Regions from separate parts of the Homo sapiens genome. Here region 1 is linked to region 2. The links are contacts of gene promoters, found by promoter capture Hi-C in blood cells and fetal thymus (Javierre and others, 2016). All regions are on one chromosome and are shown on one strand. Each heading gives the region's core, a stretch centred on a gene start or on the middle of the fragment in contact. The rest is flanking DNA. Distances are from core to core; before and after follow the strand shown. Region 1 overlaps PMM2 (phosphomannomutase 2). Region 2 holds the start of USP7 (ubiquitin specific peptidase 7).

The links. Contacts are between HindIII fragments. The CHiCAGO score rates a contact against its expected background, and 5 or more counts as called.
Region 1: a fragment that was not itself captured here is called in contact with the fragment with the promoter of USP7 in region 2 in 1 of 17 cell types (non-activated CD4 T cells); the score reaches 5.1 in non-activated CD4 T cells.

The regions. Positions count from the first base shown.
Region 1 is chr16:8,818,893-8,822,453 of GRCh38, reverse strand. All of the region lies in intron 7 of PMM2 (phosphomannomutase 2), which reads right to left. Among named protein-coding and RNA genes, the nearest start is that of PMM2, 23 kb to the right of the region's middle. RefSeq lists a silencer at 3,209-3,258. The HindIII fragment of the contact is 5,228 bases long and covers 1-3,561 here.
Region 2 is chr16:8,962,071-8,965,933 of GRCh38, reverse strand. It overlaps USP7 (ubiquitin specific peptidase 7), which reads left to right and starts at 2,028. Exons shown (of 31, transcript NM_003470.3): 1 at 2,028-2,727. The coding sequence starts at 2,649. It overlaps USP7-AS1 (USP7 antisense RNA 1), which reads right to left and starts at 3,221. Exons shown (of 2, transcript NR_184341.1): 1 at 3,040-3,221. RefSeq lists enhancers at 1-424, 3,121-3,657 and a silencer at 1,566-1,925. The HindIII fragment of the contact is 5,189 bases long and covers 1-3,863 here.

The DNA.
Region 1 (3,561 bases), core at 906-3,405, 140 kb after region 2:
CCTTTCCCTGAAATAAACCCCCTTCTTGCCTGGGGACCAGTCTGCCTTTGTAGGACTAACAAATTAGCTACAAGAGTCTGAACCTCCCCAAATTGCTCCTGAAAATAATATCACTGTCATAAAACCTAAGATTGTGCCTGAGATATTTTGTAGACCCTGTGTTCTGATGCAGTATCTGATGCCACACAGACAGGTAATCTGGCTCAACCAGCTCTTTGATCCCACCAGGAACAGAAGATAGCAAGAAAAACTCACTTCCACCCCCTATGATTTCATCTCCAAGCCGACCAATCAGCAATCTCCACTTCCCAAGCCCCTACCCAGCAAGTTATCCTTAAAAACTCTGATCCCCAAATTCTTGGAGAGGCTGATTTGAGGAATAATAAAACTCCAGTCTCCTGTACAGCCAGCTCTGCGTGAATTACCCTTTGTCTACTGCAACTCTCCTGTCTTGATAAATCGGCTCTTGTCTAGGCAGTGGGCAAGGAGAACCTGTTGGGCAGTTACAGGGCCAATGAGACAAGAGCCTGCTCTGAAATGGCGTAGAGCAGTAGTGGCTCTCCCTGGCTAGAGTCCCTGGGGATGCCTTAAAAATGCTTGTTTGGGGCATGGCCCAAGCCCAGGGTCATGATGTTTTGAAAGTGATCAGGTGATTCCAATATATATCCAGGGCTGAGCACCAGTGACTTAGAATCTAGGAAAAAACACCCCTTGGCTTGGGGGCGAGGGTGGAACCTGAGCTGGCCAAGGGGCTAGTGGCCCTAGGGCGAGTGACCCTTGGGTCTGTTGACGGCTCTGAGCACAGCCCTCTCATTTCACCTCTCCGGCCTTCAAGGGCAGAGGAGACAGCTCTGTGACGGATCTGGGCCTGGAATGCCCACAGGAGATGCCGATTCTGCGGACATCAAGGGGCTCCCTGGAAGGCCAGCCCCACTCCAGGGGTTTGAAGCCAGTGTCTCCCTGAATGAAAGAGCTTCAGCACAGACACAGGCAGGGATGCTCACTCTGTGGGCTGGTTGTTAGCCACAGTCCTATTCCTGGGACCAACACCCAGGGCCATGGACTCTGTGGAGTCTGGCACTCAGGAGGAAGGTGGGCTAGCAGGAACATCTGAAGCTCGTGGCTCCCATGCATGACACCCTGCTTCCTGGCCTCCCACACAGGAGCGGGTGGGACATCTCCACCAGGCTGAGAACCTCTCATCAATTTCTGCCAGTCAGTTCTGGAAGCTGACTGTGGGAGCGGCAATTCACTCAGGGTCCCTCCAGGAGTGAGGGACTCACATGTTAAGAAGCTAAGTCTGCCACCAGCCACACAAGAAGACCTGGGTCTCAAATCATGTGGTCCCAGCAATAAGTAGTAAGACAGATCTATCCACAGAATCCATTCTGTGCCCTCCTTAGCCTTGAGTCCTGAAAGAGCTACAGATGCTAGGCATGGTTAAGTCCAGGATCGCAAAGGCCAACTGCCATCCAAAGCCTAACTTGGAACCTGAGGACAGGAGGACATGGTTCACTAATTCACGCTCTAATGAACTGTTGGAAGGTGTGTAGGAAGGTGCTCACTCACAAGGATGGCCCTTCACTGAGGGACTTGGCAGGCTCCAATCTCTTAGGAAAATCTCAATAACAGATGAGCCTTTGAATAACTTTCTTAGAAAGTGAAGGAAGCAGACGCTGGTTGTGGACCAGGCCAAAGATGCATGTCCCAGCTGCCTTTCCTGAGTCAGGCCCTGCGTCACCCACTTTCCTCAGATGCCTTCACTTCATTCTCATATGACTCCTTCAGAAGAGCAACTGTGGTCGGGAGTGGTGGCTCACGCCTGTAATTCCAGCACTTTGGGAGGCCAAGGTGGGCGGATCACTTGAGGTTAGGAGTTCAAGACCAGCCTGGCCAAGATGGTGAAACCCCGTCTCTACTAAAAATACAAAAATTAGCCAGGCGTGGTGGTGGGCACCGGTAATCCCAGCTACTCAGGAGGCTGAAGTGGGAGGATCACTTGAGCCCAGGAGTTCAAGATTACAGTGAACCAAGATTGCGCCACTGCACTCCAGTCTGGGTGACAGAGTGAGACCTTGTCTCAGGAAAAAAAAAAAAAAAAAGAAGAACTGTGTCCTCACTGGGCTGACGAGGTCACTGTCACTGTCCTCACTGTCACAAGGTCACTGGTGAATGGTGGGGCCAGATCTGGGTCAACATGGTCCACACTGATACAAACCTCTTTTAAGCTAATTTTGTTTTTCTTTATTTGTTTATTGAGACAGAATTTCACTCTGTTGCCCAGCCTGGAGTGCAATGGCACAATCTCAGCTCACTGCAACCTCCGCCTCCCGGGTTCAAGCGCTTCTCCTGCCTCAGCCTCCTGAGTAGCTGGGATCCAGGCATGCGCCACCACGCCCAGCTAATTTTTGTATTTTTAAGCTAATTTTAAAGGCAGATCTTCCTTATTAACATTTCTGGAGAATAAAATGTTGCACAATTTACTTAAAAGGAAGGCAGGTAGCATGTTAGAAGCGATGTAGGAGAATGACAGAGGCGAGGCTTTCAGATCCCAGCTTAGTCTCTGACTAGCTGAGACCCTGGACTTCCCACTGTGCTTCCTCTGTAAGAGGGAGGATGCTGCTGTCTCCCCTGGGAGCATGTACAACATAAGTGTCCAGCTCAGGGTCTGACACTGAGGAAGTGCTGGAAGATTTACATTTCCTCCCTTTTTTCAATTTTTAAAAATTTTTAATTTTTATTGTTTTTTTTTTTTTTAAGAGACGAGGTCTCGCTCTGTTGCCTAGGCTGGAGTGCAGTGGCGCAATCGTGGCTCACTATAATCTTGAACTCCTAGGCTCAAGTAATCCTCCCACTTCAGCCTCCCTAGTAGCCAGGATTACAGGGATTACTCAGATCCTTTTCTCAAGTTGATTTAAAAATTTTATTTTTCAATAGATAGCACATTCATATAGTTCAAACATATTAAGAAAGAGTTAAGACCTAGGTGGCAATTCTCTCTCCTGTCCTCCCCACCCCCACAGTAACCTCTGTAAATTTCATCCATTCAGACTCCTTTTATGCATTTATAAGCTAACAAAAAGAGAAATTCCTTTGCCCTCTTTAGACAAAAATGTAGCCAGCACATTACTTATATTGTCCTGCACTTTGCTTTGATCACCTAACAAAAAGCCCTAGAGATGGGTCCACATGGACTCTTTTTACAGCTACATGGCATCCCAGTGCAGAGACAGACCACTGTCATGTGGCCAGCCTCCTGAGGAGCAGCGGGGCTGTCCCCAACCCTGAACCCTCTGCGTGAGTCTTTCACACATGCTTGAGTGCACTGATAGCCAAATTACCCAAAATGGAAGCGTCAAGTCAAAAACCAAACCAGCTGCTTGATATTCATGAAGTGTTAGAATGTTTTCATGTTGCAACTGCCTTAAAGCCAAGATGACTTTTACAGAAAGCATGGGTAAGTACAGGTTCTCTTGCCTGCGAATTCAGAGTGGCTGAGGGTGATCCAGCCAGGGTGGTTTCTGGAAAGCCATGCAGAGCCATGTGTGGTGTGTGCTCTCT
Region 2 (3,863 bases), core at 779-3,278:
AAAGTGCTGGCATAAGGGGTGTAAGCCACTGTGCCTGGCCCATTCAACCAATATTTATTTATGTATTTATTTATTTTAGATGGAATCTCCCTCTATTGCCCAGGCTGGAGTGCAGGGGTGTGATTAGCTGACTGCAGCCTCCACCTCCTGGCTTCAAGCAATTCTCCTGCCTCAGCCTCCTGAGTAGCTAGGATTACCAGCGTATGCCACCATGCCCGGCTAAGTTTTTTGTATGTATTTTTAGTAGACATGAGGTTTCACCATGTTGGCCAGGCTAGTCTCGAATTCCTGACCTCAGGTGATCCGCCCACCTCGGCCTCCCAACGTGCTGAGATTACAGGCGTGAGCCACCGTGCCTGGCCCAACCAATTTTTTTTTTTTTTTTGAGATAGAGTTTCGCTCGTTGCCTAGGCTAGAGTGCAATGGCGCGATGTCAGCTCACCGCACCGCACCCTCCACCTCCCGGGTTCAAGTGATTCTCCTGCCTCGGCCTCCTGAGTAGCTGGGATTACAGGCATGCGCCACCACGCCCGGCTAATTTTGTACTTTAAGTAGAGACGGGGTTTCTCCATGTTGGTCAGGCTGGTCTCAAACTCCCGACCTCAAGTGATCCGCCCGCCTTGGCCTCCCAAAGTGCTGGGATTACAGGTGTGAGCCACCGCGCCGACCTGGCCCAACCAATTTTTATTGAGCACTTGCTGTGTATCCCAGGCATTTGTGATACAACAGTGAGCAAAACATTCTTTCGGGGGGAAGGGAGATGAACAGTACATAAATGGGAGAAAAATGCAGGGAAAGCGGGTATAGGGAGATGGAGAGAAGACAGGTACCACAATCTTCTGGCCTTGTTAGGGTGAAATTCTATTCTCCCCTGAGATGTGTAGAAATGTATATCGGTTTGCTCCATTTTTATTGACCCACACTGCCTTGATTAACTGGAAAAGTTGAGACCCTAATCATCAGTCTGTCAATGACTGAATGAGACAGGACAGGAGATATATTCACCAAATGTCTCCTGGAATAGGGAGGCCCCGGGTGAATGATCCCAGACTGGGTTGATAGGAAGGAAGTAAATTAATACCAAATGTGAAGGGTAGTGGGCTTGTTTTATTTTTATATTATTATTTTATTATCACTATTAGTTGAGACAGGGTCTCATTCTGTTGCCCAGGCTGGAGTGCAGTGGCGCCATCTTTGATCACTGCAGCCTCAGTCAACCTCCCAAGCGAACCTCCAGCCTCAGCCTCCCAAGTAGCTGTCACTACAGGCAGGAGGCACAACACCCGGCTAATTAAAAATACATTTCAAAAATATAAAAACAAAACCCAAAACCTTTGTAGAGAGGGTGGTCTCTTACTCTTGGCCTCAAGTGATTCTCCCACCTCGGCCTCCCAAAGTGCTGGGATCACAGGTGTGAGCAGCTGCGCCCCGCCTGGGGTTGCTCTTGAGGAGCCAAACTTTGCCAGATTAGGCTGACAGTGAGAAAATAAATTCTTCCACGGTAGATACTGGGTGAAAAAGTGCACGTCAGCGGGCAAGGGTAAGTAACGACAATAACAGGAACTTCTAGGCGCTGACCCCAAGCTCCCTTCCGGGCCCTATCCCGAGCAGTCCCCGGGCAACCTCCAGCGCTCGCCCCGGCGCGCTAGGCTGGGACCTGAACCCCGGCTGCCGGGTGGCTTCTGGGCCCCTCCTCATTGCCGCTCCTGGGTCTTTCGGGGTGTCCGGCTCCCCAGGATGGGAAGGATTCCGGTTCACCTCCGCAGGGCTAAGTCACCGGGCGGCCCGCCTCGGCCCCCAGGGCCCGGGGGCAGGGAGCGCCGAGGGTCCGCCGCGGGGCTGCGGCGCAGGCGGTGCCGGGGCGCGGCGCTGCGGGGCAGGCGGGCCTCGGCGGCGGCGGCAGGCGGGTCGCTCCCTGCTCCGCCTCCCGTGCTCCGCCCTGCGCTCCCGCTCCGCCCTCCGGCTCGGCGCCCGCCCGCTTGCTCTCCTCGCTCGCTCGCTCGCTCCGCGGCCCCCCATGCGGATGTGACATTTCACGCCGCCGCCATTTTGAGAGCGAGCCGAGCCGAGCTGCCGGGCGCCGCGTCCGCTGCCGGAGCCCCGACGACGACGCCGAGGAGGCGGAGGCCGCGGCTCTCGGAACGCGGCCGGCCCGTCGCCCGCCCGCTCCGCCGCTCCCGCCGGCCCCAGGGCCCGCAGGCCCGCCGCGGCCGGCCAGGCCTCCCGTCCGCCGCGCCCGGCCCGAGGCGGGGCTGACTCCGCGGCCCCCGACCGGCCGCCCTCCGCCCCCGGCCGGCCCGCGGCCCCGCAGCCCCGGCCCCGGCCCCGGCGGCGGGAGGCGGGCCCCGCGGCGGCGGCGGCGGCGGCCGCAGCGAGCGACGAGGCCGCCCGGCCCGGCCCGCCGGCCGCCCGCCCGCCTCGGCGCCGAGATTGGGCGAATCGCGAGCAAGTACGTGCGCGTCTCCCTGCCGCCGCCGCCGCCCGCCGCGGGCCGCCCCGGGGCCGCCGTCGCCGACGACGCGCGGGAGGAGGAGGAGGAGGCCGCCCCGCCGCCGCCGCCGCCGCCGCCGCCCCGGCTCGCCGCCGCCCGCCCGCCGGGCTCGCAGCCCCGGCCCCCGGCCGCAGGCGAGGCCCAGGCCGCGGCCGACATGAACCACCAGCAGCAGCAGCAGCAGCAGAAAGCGGGCGAGCAGCAGTTGAGCGAGCCCGAGGACATGGAGATGGAAGGTGAGGCCCGAGGGCCGGCCGCGGCGGGGCCGGGGGGCGCCTTTCATTGTGGCCGGGGGAGCCGCGGGAGCCACGCGAGGGGCTCGCCATCTTTAACCAGGCCCCGGGCGGCCGCCGGGCCTCGGCCTGGCCTCCCGGCCCCGGCCTGCGAGGCTGCAAAGTCATGCCGGGTCCGCGGGCGAGGGGCGGCCGCCGGGACCCCGGCCCCGTGCATTGTCCCGACCTCGCGTCCGCCGGGCCTCCGCGGCACAAAGCGCCCTGAGTTGTAAATTCGAGCGCTCAGGCAGCGGAGGGACGGAGGTGTTTTCTCACCCAGGTTGGGAGGCGGACTCCGGGGACCGTCCCCGTTCTGGGGCGTCCGGTTGGATCTGGTGTGGCTGGGGAATTCCTGACCTCCCCGGGCGCGGGGCTCGCCCGCACCTGCTCCGGTGCGCTCCCCCGGAGGGCGCGCCGTGGCTCGGAAGCGCTCTTCCAAATCACTTTCTAACAGCACTGCCTAGCGTCGGGCTTACGTTCGAAAATACCTGCAAGGAACGCAGATGTTGTCAGGTTTTGGACTGGCCCAGAGTTCTGACCCGGGCGCTGTTGGTTTCCGAATCCACCTGTTTTTCGGGGAGTTTGTACTTGGCAGTGTGTGGTGCAGCCAGCATCCGGCCAGGTGTGCGCTTGCAACCGTGCGAAAGCCCTGCCGCACATGGCTGCCTGCATCAGAATCAAACCTGACTCGAAAGGTAACTCGGTTTTCTGCCGATGTGGCAGTAATTTTCCAAGGCACTGTAGTTTGAGGTATAGAGTCTTGGTTGTAAAGGTTGGATGTGAAGACGCTGTAAAGAGAAGGGTGTTGGATTTAGGGAGTTGGTCGTTGGAAGGCACTTTTTCTCACGACCCATTTCACTGAAACAAAGCAAAGTCCAAATGGTCTTTAAAAAGTTTTCTTACCTACGTGACGAGTTCAGGCTGTCGGGAGTCAAATGGAGGCCACCTGAATGAAAACGGCGTGGAATGCTTTAGTTTTGCTTTTAGCAAGGGATCTTGGGTTGCCTCAATGAATGAAGCTCCAGGGGAGCTCAGGAAAAGCAGTATTTGTCCTGTGCGGTGGCTCCAAGTGTGGGGCGCTGCACACCGGTTGGTGGGAA